Linked DNA regions of Homo sapiens: region 2 is linked to region 1. The links are contacts of gene promoters, found by promoter capture Hi-C in human tissues and cell types (Jung and others, 2019). All regions are on one chromosome and are shown on one strand. Each heading gives the region's core, a stretch centred on a gene start or on the middle of the fragment in contact. The rest is flanking DNA. Distances are from core to core; before and after follow the strand shown. Region 1 holds the start of LPCAT1 (lysophosphatidylcholine acyltransferase 1). Region 2 has its middle 74 kb from the start of LPCAT1.

Region 1 (7,333 bases), core at 1,253-3,752:
CAGGCTATTTCACTCTGTGGAAACTTTACAAGAATATATCACATCAAAGTAAAAGCTTTGCAAAGCAATGCTTGGTGAAAAGCAAAATGTTTCTGCAGAGAACTTTGAGAACGTTTACAAACTAAACCCTTGAGCCACACATTGCAGACATCCAGCAGAAACGACTGGATGTACAAACACACCTAATTCCTCAGATGGAACCTCTGAAGTGGCAACAAAGCAAGCCCCCTCTCTGAGAGGCCCCAACACCTCAAGCCAGGATCTCTGCCTGGCTTCGGCCCAAGGGAGAACAGCTGCCCAAAGCCTTCAATCTCGGGACCAGGAGCCTCTCGATGACCCCCTGCCCAAGAGCCACTGGGAGCAGCTTGCACCCTGAGGTCTCGGGGAGGAAAGCAGGCCCCTCTGGGCACTCTGGCAGTGCCCTGACATCTGTACCTACCCATGAGAGTCTCTGCCCTGCTTCTCGCCAGGGCAGTGGGTGCACACTTTTGGACAGAACACACCTCAACCGGGGGCTGCAACTATGACAGGGATGACGAAGTGGCCTCCGGGGACCTCCAGGGAGGGGCTTGATGTTTCCCCCCAGGGAGCCAGGAGGGAGTAGGAAAGGCAGGAAGAGAGAGCATGCCTGAGGCAGCCATAGCTGGGGCAGGAGCAGGGCTGGGGAAGCCCTGGAAACCACAGCAGGGGTTCGAATTTCATCCGGGGGCGTCCCCGCTGAGGGCTTCCGAGCAGCAGAGTGCAGGAGGAAGAAAGCCTGCTGGGAGTGACTCAGGGAGAGTGACCAGGGAGAGAGCCTGGTGGCTGGGTGGGGGTGAGGATTGAAGAGGAGGAATGGTTGAGGGGCACAGAATGAGCGACCGTGTCCCAAGTCCTCCTTTGAGGGGCACAGCACACGGCAGCTGACAGCGTGTGGCAGACAGAGGGCCAGGCAGAGCGGCGGCAGAGGGGCCGGCACCGCCCCAGCCCCAGAGTCCAGCTCCCGACACACAGGGAGACGGGGGCCAGGGCCTGGGAGCCAGGCTGGGGACGACCTCACCCTGTGTGTCACCAGGAGGGGCGGCACCATCGGGCTCTCCTGCTCCCCGTCCCCTTCCATACCCTGAGGACCAGCCGCATCAAGGGGCTTTGAGCAAAAGCAGGCGTCCTGGGAAAATGACAAGCTCAAACTGGCCTCAAGAACTTTTCACTTCAGGGTTCTTTCAGATAAAGTACTTTATGCATTAACAAATCTCCATCTTCCCGGAAATCTATTCTCACAATTGGAAGCGTGCTCCCTACAAACCGGACAGCCCCATAGGCCCCGAAACAGTGCTTGCTTCTAGGAATTATTCTAGAGTCAAAAGTAAGGTCCTCTTGAGAGTGGATCTCAGGTAACTGTAAGCCCAGCTGGCAGCCAGGTAGCCGGAAAAGCCAGGCTGAGCCAGCACATCCCCGGTGCAGCTTCCTGCAGCGAGCGGCCCCCTCCCCACGACGCCCCCGGGTCTCCCCTCACCACTGTCCCATCGCAGGATCTCAGCAAACCGTTCCCTCCCACGTGGCAGCCCAGGTTGCATAAAGTTGATTCGGGTCAGACCAGCCCCGAGAAAGCATCCCTTACAACAGGAGCGAAGCATGCACCCCAGAAGGCAACGTGCGGCCGCAGAGCAGGGAGACCCGTGCGCCTACAGGGGACCCTACAGGGGACCCGCACCGCCCGCGCGCCCTGTCCCGGGCACCACCAGGCCCCGCACACGAGGCTCACCCAGAGCCGCGGTGCCCTCCCGCCCGCGGGCCGCGTCCAGGCAAAGCCGCTCCGGAGTCCCCGGGCTGCGCGCAGGGCCTGCCAAGGCGGGCGGGGCCCGGACCAGGGACGAGCGCGGGGACCGGCGATGCGGGTCCAGCCTCCCGCGGGAGCCGAGGTCGGGGCTCTGGGAGGCAGAGAAAGGGTTGTGGGCCCGGTTCAGGGTGCAGGGGTCTGGGGGGAGGAGCAGAACGCGGGGCGGGGATGGGAAGCGGGGACCCCGAGGAAGGCGCTGAGGGACCAGGATGCGCGTGCGGGCGGCGGGAAGCCGGCGCCGAGACCGAGGCATCGGGTGCGGGCGGCGGGGACGCGAACTGAGGGGCGGCCGCGGGGAGGGAAGGCGCCGCGGCTCGCAGGGCCGCGCCGCGCCCCAGGCCCCCTCCCCGGCCCCTCCTCGGCCGCGCCTCCCTGGCCCCAGCATCCCTGGCGTCCGCGCCGGCTCCCGGGGCCGCGCGCCCTGGGCACCCACCTGGGCCTTCTGCAGGGCGCTGAGGCGCAGCTCGTGCACGAAGGGGTTCCGCCCCGGGGGCGCCAGCAGCCGAGCGTCGCTGGCCCCTGCGCTGGAGGCAGGGGCGGCCCGGGGTCCGCATCCCCGCAGCCTCATGGCCGCGCCGTCCCGCGGCGAGCGCAGCCGAGCTGCCTGGGGCGCCGAGCGGGGCCGGGGCTAGCTGGGCGCGGGTCTCGGGGCGCGGGCCGAGGATGCGCGGCGGCTGGAGCGGGCCGGGCGCGCAGGCGCGGGAGGTGACGTGGGCGGAGCGGGAGCGCCGGCCGGGGCGGGGCGTCCCTGGAAGCCTCGCCTCCCGCCGGCCGGCAGGGGCGGCACCAGCCGGAGTTCCGCTACCTGGTGGTTTCTCTGGGGTCTGTGGGGGGCCGGGGCCGCTGGGGACCGGGGGCGCCTCCTGCAGCCACTGGAGCACAGGGATCCCCGGCAGGGTCTGCGCCAGGAGAAAGGGAGGTCCCCCGGGCCCGCGAGGCTGCCACGTCGTCCCCTTCCGCCGCTCGGCCCGCCTGCTCGCGGGGAGGGAGGAAGGGGCGGGCACGCGTCCAGCTTACGCGCAAGGCGGGCCAGGCCCTGGGTGCCGAGCCCCGGGCTGTTCCGGCGAAGGCCCCACGCCATTCTTCTTATTCGTTGGGCTCCTAGCTCGCACCGGCGACCCTGGAAGCTGCCCCGGGCTGAGGGAGCTTCTTCCAGCCGCGCCTCAGCCCAGGCGACTCCCGCCTGAGGTCCACTCGACCTTAGGACCCCCCAGACCTCGGGATCCCCTCAGATCTCAGGACCCCTCAAGCCTCAGGACCCCCTCAGACCTCAGGACCCCTCCGATCTCAGGACCTCTCAGGCCTCAGGCCCCGCAGGGATGGCCCAGGCAGGAGGCGCACATAGGGGCCCTGACTGTCCGTGCTGGTTGTGCAGGGGCTGCGATGAGATCCCAGCGCTTTCTCACCCGTAGCTGCTTTGGCTCGGGCATTGCCCTTGTGGTGCTCAGGAGCCGTGTGAGGAGCCCCAGGGTGGGGCCCATAATTAGCCGGAGCGAGAGTAGGATGGGCTCCTGCCTCCGGGTGAACACGCTTGGATTTCAGAACTCACGCAGGCCTTCGGTCACAGTGCTCACGGCTTCCTCACCCCGGCTGGCCCTGTTGGTTCCTTCATGGCCAACGGACCTCACCCAGACAGAGCCGGTTTGGGCCACCTGGCCAACCCCCCAGGGTCCTGGCTCCTGGGGATGTCACTGCTGTGTTGGCCCCAGCTGGGCCCCATCCTCAGCAGACGCCAGGGAGTGCCCCGACCCCTCCAATGACCCTGCCTGCGCCCTTGTGGACCTCATAGTGCAGCGGGCTGGCAGAGACCCTTCTGTGTCTGAGACCGGGGTGAGGGCCAGGGGTCTGTGCCATCCACATATCATGCACAGAGAAGGCCCCGGCAGGCCAGACCCGCTGCATGGCCTTATTCCTGCCCCATAAGAGTCCCAGCCCATATTCCTGCCCCATAAGAGTCCCAGCCCATGCCTAGCAGCAGCACCTGTCCCAAGTGCCACACCCACGGGGATGGGGTGAGCCCTGTGTGCTGGTGGGCATTGGTGGCTCTGTGGCCCAGCCACCAGCGTTGCACCCACCTCCTGGGCTTTTAGTGGCCACTTGCTCTGATCCCCAAAACCAGAGCCCAGCACCCGAGGCCACCCAAGGCTCCTCACCGAACTGATCATCAAGAAAGCCCAGGACACAAAGCCTGCCAGCCACAGGGCAGCACCTGCACCCCAGCGATCCAGGCGGCCCCACCTGCTGCCTGAGTGCTCTGGAGAGGAGGGGCCCTAGGGTGTCCCAGTCCTGGGATGAGAGCAGCCTCAGGACTGGACTTGGAGAGCCATGAAAGTGGGGTCCTCCCAGAAGCACAGGCCAGGAAGCGGTGTGTGGCGGAGGGGAAACCTGCTGGAGATGGTGCAGAGCCAGATTCAATGGGGAGAGCTGCCAGAGAGTCATGGCTGTGTCCCCAGAAGATGCAAAAGTCCTAACCCACAGCACCTGTGGCCGCGACCTTATTTGGAAACAGGGTCTTTGCAGATGATCAGGTTAAGAGGAAGTCATTAGGGTGGGCCCTAGTCTGAAATGGCTTGTGTCCCTATAGAGAGGGAGATTCGGTCTCAGAGACAGACACAGAGAGAGCTCCATGGGAAGGCCAGGGTTCTGCTGCTACAGGCAAGCAGTTCCCAGGAGCTGGAGAGGCCTGGAGCAGGTCCTCTCTAGTGCTCTCAGAGGGAGCCTAGGCCTAGGGTGCCATGATCGCAGGCTTCTGGCCTCCAGACTGGGAGAGAATAAATTCCTTCTGCTTTAACCTGCAGAGTGCAAAGTGAGTTGGAACCCAGGGAAGGAGGTGGGGAGGCTGGGGGAAGAACCTCATACTGCCCGGCAATCTAAGCAGGGTCAGCAGGTTGTCCTTGAGCCAAGGTCGGTGGAAAGAGGAGTCCCTCTCCCAGAGGGGTCTTAGGTGGAGCCACTGTGGGCAGCGTGGCCTTGGTGTAGAAGCTCAGTGGATCCTTGGGTCACAGGCACCATGTGGAGGAGGCGCAGAGGCCCAGCTCCGGGGTCAGTACACAAGGGGGCACAGCTGGGAGGGTGGGTGTGACAGGGCCAAGGGCTGTGCAGAGCAGGGGGCAGGACTGGGGCACACTCGTCCTCACCAAGCAGAACCCAAGAAGGCCCCAGAGAGCGGCCAAGGAGCGGAGGTCCCCAGAGGGGCTGAGTCCACGGAACTGCCCCATCCAGGAGGACTGGCCAGGAGAGAACTGGGAAGGCCAGCCAGTGGTAGTAGCAAGGGTGGAGACCACCACCCTGCAGGGTGCTGTGGAGTGGGCAGGAGTTACAGAGGTTCTTTCCCAGCTACCTGAGAAAGGAGGAAGCGTGATGGGCAGGAGGAGGAAAATGGATGCTTGGCGGGAGGCTGGGATCCAGGGCAGCAGCTCAAGGAAGGGGCCCAGGACATGTTCCTGGGTGGAAGGCAACAGGCCAGCCTCACAGGAGACGTTGAAAACCCCTGTGAGAGGGGGTGTCATGGGCCCATCTCAGTCTGGAAGGATTCTGCGCTCAGAGGAAGGAAAGGCCTGGGGCCCGGAGCGGGGACTCCTTCTCTGCTGCAGCTGGAAGGGGTTGGATGGTCCACAGGGCACGTGCCCAGGGGGTGGGGAGCTGGGGCACTCTTGTGTGTGGGAGTCAGTTTTCTCCTGGGGACTGCGAGGGGTGGGGGAGAGGGGCTGCTTATGGGGAAATCAGCGCAAGCGTGGAGGAGCAGCAAGGAAATTCCTCCACCCACACTGGGCCTTCACACTTAGGCTTTGGTTCTGCTATGTAATGGAACGTTCTTAAGACCTGGAGGGTCTGGAAGCTTGACTAAGAGAAGTTGGTCTTGGGTGGGGAGGTATAAGCAGTTTTCTCTGTCTAGCAGGGGAAACATGAGTTTCTCATTAGGACTTAGTTTTGGGAAAACCACCCTAAGGGCCCTTTAGCTACAAAGGGAGCCCCCACTGTGGTTCTCAGGAACCTCCTGGAAGCCCCCCACAGCTCCCTGGGGCTGGTAACCACACCCCTGAGGCTTCTTGCTCTGGTTTTGTCTCTGTTTTAAGAGTGTAAGCTCACAGAGAAGTGTTTCCTATACTCCAAGTGCATTGAGAACACAAGGTACCTGCTTGTTCTGGTAAGGCTGAGTATTTTTGTTTTGTTTGTTTAATTTTTGAATTTTAGAGTTATCTATAGGATAGAAAAAGATATTCTCCTTCATTTTCTACTAACATCTTTTTTCAGTTCTGCCTTTCATGGTTGCATTTTATTCTATTTGAAGATTTTTTTCTCTGCATGGAGACCTGATATTCTCAACACCACGTATCAATCACAGACTCCCACTTGTGGGTCCACTTCCAGCATGAACAGAAAGAAGGGTTCCTGAAGCTCCTTCTGGCTGCCCCATCTCACCCATTGGTCCGTGTACTCCTTTACTCCCGTCTCACCCGCCGGTCCGCGTACTCCTTTACTCCTGTCTCACACCTTTCAACCGTCTGCCTTAGTAACTGTAGAGGGGGTTCCTTCCTGTTGGCGCTTCTTCCCAAGAATTGTAGTAGGAATTCAGGGAATTTTATTTTTCCATCCAAATTTTGGAAGCAGTTGTCCCCATTGCTAAAAATTCCCGCTGGAAGCTTCCTTTTGAATCACATTAATTGTACAGGGTACTTCAGTAAGAATGTTACTTCATTCTTACTGTTCATTCTCCCTGTTCCCTAAGAATGTTACTTCAGTAAGAGCTGGCTGGTCCTGGGAGGGGCCCTCGAAGGGCCAGCAAGGCTCCAAGGCTCCAAGGCTTCAAAGCACTAGAAAATACAAAAAAAAAATTTTTTAAATGGATGATGTGGCATGGACACTTTATAATTTTGAGAACGATTTTTCACCAACATGGTTATTCTACCATTTATTTAGATGTTCTTTCATGCCCTTTGATAGCATTTTAAATTTTTCTACATAAAGATTCTGTATTTTTGTTAATTCCTTGATGCTTCATACTTCTGCAGTGATGTAATAATCGTTTCAAAAATTACTCTTGGGCCGGGCGCGGTGGCTCATGCCTGTAATCTCAGCACTTTGGGACGCCGAGGTGGGCGGATCATCTGAGGTCAGGAGTTCGAGACCAGCCTGGCCAACATGGCAAAACCCCATCTCTACTAAAAATATGACAATTAGCCAGGTGTGGTGGCACACGCCTGTAGTCCCAGCTACCCGGGAGGCTGAGGCAGGAGGATTGCTTGAACCTGGGAGACAGAGGTTGCAGTGAGCCAAGATCACGCCACTGTACTCCAGCCTGGGCAAGAACAGAGCGAGACTCTCTTTCAAAAAAAAAAATTACTCTTGACAGTATGGATTATATGGAGAACCACTACTGCTTGTGTAGAGGTTGTATGAAGACAGACCCCAGGGTACAAGAGGACCTGTGGATGTTCCAGATGAGGAGTGCACAGCCCCAGAGTGAGGGACTCCATCATGTACAATGGATGGACTTCCTATTCAACCCACAAT
Region 2 (5,107 bases), core at 626-3,125, 73 kb after region 1:
GGCGGAGCCACCGCGCACGGCCGTGGTCAGCTTTGAAAGCTGCGTAGATCCCTTTGGCTCATACGCCTTTCTGCTAGCTTACCCTGATTCTGCTTCTGGTTCAGATAGTATTTTAATATTTCTAGTGTGTCTTTTTGTAAGATATCTGAAATCTTTTTGTGGAATGAAGTGGCATGAAAAATAAACCAATAATCGTTAGTAATTACGTTTCCTGTCTTTTCACTTTAAATTATTAAAATCTTCGTTTTGTGCATGTTTAACAATTTTGAGTTATTTTAGTAAATTTGCAAGGGTTCAGTCCCATTTTATTGATATTTGGGTTGTTTCCCATTTTTGCTCTTAATAAATAACACTGTACAGAACATATTTGTGACCATAACTTTAGGATTATTTTCTTAGATTGTAGGCCCCAGACGTGGCCTTTATTGGCTTGCAGGGAATGAACGTAATAGCTCCTAGACTTTTTTTTGAAAGTTATGCAGTTTTAGTCCTGTGTTAATTACCTAATTTTGTTTTGTTTTGTTTGAGACAGAGTTTTGCTGTTGTTGCCCAGGTTGGAGTGCAATGGCGCGATCTCAGCTCACTGCAACCTCTGCCTCCAGGGTTCAAGAGATTCTCCTGTGGAGCTTGCAGTGAGCGGAGTTCGAGCCACTGCACTCCAGCCTGGGCAACAGAGCAAGACTGCCCCTCAAAAAACAAAGAGATTCTCTCGCCTCAGCCTCCCGAGTAGCTGGGACTACAGGCCCCCGCCACCACGCCCAGCTAGTTTTTGTATTTTTAGTAGAGACAGGGTTTCACCATATTGGCCAGACTGGTTTCAAACTCCTGACCTCAGGTGATCCACCTGCCTCAGCCTCCCGAAGTGCTGTGATTGCAGGCGTGAGCCACCGTGCCTGGCCTTAATTTTTTAATTCTATAATTACCACATGTAGGGGTGGGTTGCCCCTCCACACCTGTGGGTGTTTCTCGTAAGGTGGAACGAGAGACTTAGGAAAGAAAAAGACACAGAGACAAAGTATAGAGAAAGAAATAAGGGGACCCGGGGAACCAGCGTTCAGCATATGGAGGATCCCGCCAGCCTCTGAGTTCCCTTAGTATTTATTGATCATTCGTGGGTGTTTCTCCGAGAGCGGGATGTGTCAGGGTCACAAGACAATAGTGGGGAGAGGGTCAGCAGACAAACACGTGAACAAAGGTCTTTGCATCATAGACAATGTAAAGGATTAAGTGCTGTGCTTTTAGATATGCATACACATAAACATCTCAATGCTTTACAAAGCAGTATTGCTGCCCGCAGGTCCCACCTCCAGCCCTAAGGCGGTTTTTCCCTATCTCAGTAGATGGAGCATACAATCGGGTTTTATACCGAGACATTCCATTGCCCAGGGACGGGCAGGAGACAGATGCCTTCCTCTTGTCTCAACTGCAAGAGGCATGCCTTCCTCTTATACTAATCCTCCTCAGCACAGACCCTTCACGGGTGTCGGGCTGGGGGACGGTCAGGTCTTTCCCTTCCCACGAGGCCATATTTCAGACTATCACATGGGGAGAAACCTTGGACAATACCTGGCTTTCCTAGGCAGAGGTGCCTGTGGCCTTCCGCAGTTTTTGTGTCCCTGGGTACTTGAGATTAGGGAGTGGTGATGACTCTTAAGGAGAGTGCTGCCTTCAAGCATCTGTTTAACAAAGCACATCTTGCACCGCCCTTAATCCATTTAACTCTGAGTTGACACAGCACACGTTTCAGAGAGCACGGGGTTGGGGGTAAGGTTATAGATTAACAGAATCTCAAGGCAGAAGAATTTTTCTTAGTACAGAACAAAATGGAGTCTCCTATGTCTACTTCTTTCTACACAGACACAGTAACAATCTGATCTCTCTTGCTTTTCTCCACACCACAAACCCCTTAGTATTAAGCTCCAAGACATATTTTTGTCATATCTTTATTGCTTATAATTTTCTATCTTTAGATATTAAGTATTTGTTGAAAATCCCATGAAAAGCTTTCAGAAATTGGATTGCATTTCTTGCTTATTATACATCCCTTGACTATTTTGTAATTGTGTGTATTTGTGGAGGTCACATGTAAATAAACTTAAAGTGACTCTACTTTGTGAAAATGTGAAACTTCGTGTAGGTACTCAGTAAATCAGTAAATTCTTACTAACGTTAGCCCCCAGCCTAGCTATGGAGGGTGCATGCTGAGCCCGAAGCAGAGAGCTCTGTAATCTCTGCATTCATCACCACCATGAGGAGGCCTCAGAAGCTTCTAGCACTGTTTGCACCTTCCCCACATCACCCCTCCCTGCCTTCCTCACAGTCTTCCTTCTGATCAGAAGACCCTTTCCTTCTTTCTCTGCCTGTCAAAATGCTGCTCACTCTTCAAACCCTAGCTCATATGAAAGTGTCTGGTGTGAGCCCACTTTTATTGAGTTGATTCTGTATCTTTGATACAACTGTATGAGGGTTCTCCAGAGACACAACAAATAGAAGGGAGACGTAAGAAATTGGTTTAAAGGTTCAATTGCTAATCTCATCCAAAAACACCCTTACAGACACGCCCAGAAATAATGCTTAACCATGTATCTGAGCACCTCATGATGCCGTCAAGTTGACAAACAAAATTAACCATCGCAGCAGCCATACATTTAAATATATTTGTACCAGAGAACTTACCTGATTCTACCTGCACTTCAGATGCTTAAGACATGTCTGTTTTCTCCACTTTCCCCAACCAGATTGTGAGTCGCTTTCACCTAAGGTCTTGTTTTTTTTTCCTTTTTCTTTTTCTTTTTTTTTGAGACGGAGTCTCGTTCTGTCACCAGGCTGGAGTGCAGTGGCGCGACCTCGACTCACTGCAACCTTCACCTCCCAGGTTCAAGCGATTCTCCTGCCTCAGCCTCCCGAGTAGCTGGGACTACAGGTGCCCGCCACCATGCCCGGCTCTGGTCTAGTTTTTTTCTTCTTTGAATCCCGTAGGGCCTCAGTGCTGTGCAGCAAGCACATAGTTAAAACTGAAGAAAAATTTCTTGAATAAAAGTAGTTAACGTTTTTATTCTTTACTTCAAGGTATATCTCCATGAATAACCTAAATGATCCCCCAAATTGGAATATCCGGCCTAATTCCAGGGCGGATGGTGGTGATGGAAGCAGGTGGAATTATGCCCTGTTGGTTCCAATGCTGGGATTGGCTGCTTTTCGTAAGTCATGGTTTTCTTAAAATTAGTGTTTTCCAGGCTGAGAGTGTGGAGCCCCGGTGAGGGAGGCAGCATGGTGTGGGAGCCTGAAGGCCGTGACTTTGGGACCTGCCAGGGACAGCCGAGTTTTATCCCCTGCAGTGAACCGTGGGCAAATCACTTAAGCTCTGAGCCTCAGTCTTCCTGTTCACAGGAGATGGATAATCATACTTAACCTCAGCACACTGCAAGGATTAAGTCAGCCAAGGCGTTTAGAAGCATTTTGTGTGGGGTGGGTTTTAATAACTTAGTTCCCTCTGAAGGCTTTGCTGCTCTCAAGTCGGGGAGGAGGTTCCTTATTTCAGGTGCCCTCATAAGGACTGCTGGGGAACAAAACGGGTGTAAAGGAAACCAGTGGGCTGGGCGTGGTGGCTCATACCTGTAACCCCAGCACTCTGCGAGACCCAGGTGGGCAGATCGAGTGACCAGCCTGAGCAACACAGCAAAACCCCGTCTCTACAAAAAATACAAAAATTAGCGAGTCGTGGCGGTGCACACCTGTAGTCCCAGCTACTCAGGAGGCTGAGGTGGGAAGATCAGTGGAGCCTGGGAGGTCGAGGCTGCAGTGAGTGGAGATGGCACCACTTGCCCTCCAGCCTGAGAAACAGGGTTAAAAAAAAAAAAAGAAAACCAGTTTTGGAAAACCAGTGATGTTTAATGTTTAGGAAATCAGTCTTTGGGAGACTTCATCCATGAAATCTCTGCTTGGCCTGGCCAGAAATTCTCTCTAGTTTAGATTGACTTGGCACCACTTTGGGGAACTGTCAGTCACATGCAGACTTACATCCCCACCACACAATCAATTCACTGATGCAGAGGAGTGAGTTTTGTGTTTCTTCACATTCCATGGTTCTGGGCTGGCACTTAGGAACATGAGAAACTGAATAATTGAATGGAAGAAAGGCAAGACTGCCCTCTAGTTGTAGCGATACATTTTGTGTAGCGGCTTTTTATCTGCTTCGATGTCTCAGGTCAGAAGTTTTGCTGTAGAGGAAGAGGAGGCTGGTAAGAGCAGGTGGTTTTTATGATTCAGTGATCTGCGCAGTGCTTGCTTCTTGGTGAAAGACAGGGCAGGTCCACATCCAATCCTAAGGGGCTGCCATGTAAAAAGCTCATCCGCCTGCAGGCTTGGGAAAAAAACCCTTAACACTTGGAGAGGCTACTGTTGCCTGTGGCTAGGGTGAGTGGATTGGAAGGCTTAAAATTACTCTGACTAATGTAATAATTAATTGGCTTTGAGGCTGGGAGAGGCCCTGAAGTGACTCATTTTCCATTTGTTTTTCAGACTCATCTCAAGCTTTTATAGCCTTTCATGATAACTTTCACTTCTGAAATTCTTACCTTCCCTTCTTGGACTTTTGAAATGATGCTTTCTGTCCCTGAAAAGGGTTGAAGAATATTTTTTCTTCCTGGTTTTTTGCTGAGGTAGTGTGGTCAGAGATAACTGTTAACTTGGTGTTCTTGTAAGGATTCTCCAAAGGTGTGTTACGATGTGTTTGAGGTTCTATTGCACATAAGAGCGTAACCAGCCTTCAGTGTAGTCTAGAAGAAGAGGCAGACATATGAATACTTGATAAGCGCTATTGATTGATTGATGAGAGGCTAGTTTTGTCCTGATCACTCGCTTCATTTAGTATTATTATTATTATTATTATTTTTTTTTTTTTTTTGAGACAGTCTTGCCCTGTTGCCAGGCTGGAGTGCAGTGGCGCGATCTCGGCTTGCTACAACCTCCAACTCTCTGGTTCAAGTGATTCTCCTGCCTCAGCCTCCCGAGTAGCTGGGATTACAGGCACCCACCACCACGCCCAGCTAATTTTTGTATTTTTAGTAGAGGCGGGGTTTCACCATATGGGCCAGGATGGTCTCGA

The links. The method cuts DNA at HindIII sites, captures the fragments that hold promoters and counts their contacts. A contact is called where the count stands out against the background at its distance.
Region 2: a fragment that was not itself captured here is called in contact with the fragment with the promoter of LPCAT1 in region 1 in 2 of the 25 tissues and cell types used here (bladder and mesenchymal stem cells).

What each region holds. Positions count from the first base shown.
Region 1 is chr5:1,521,458-1,528,790 of GRCh38, forward strand. LPCAT1 (lysophosphatidylcholine acyltransferase 1) reads right to left here and starts at 2,503. Exons shown (of 14, transcript NM_024830.5): 1 at 2,253-2,503. The coding sequence starts at 2,387. RefSeq lists an enhancer at 26-530, silencers at 1,691-1,890, 2,161-2,470, 2,491-2,890 and a cis regulatory region at 3,660-3,895. The HindIII fragment of the contact is 8,437 bases long and covers 1-6,059 here.
Region 2 is chr5:1,595,050-1,600,156 of GRCh38, forward strand. It overlaps the pseudogene PDCD6P1. Among named protein-coding and RNA genes, the nearest start is that of LPCAT1, 74 kb to the left of the region's middle. The HindIII fragment of the contact is 3,047 bases long and covers 353-3,399 here.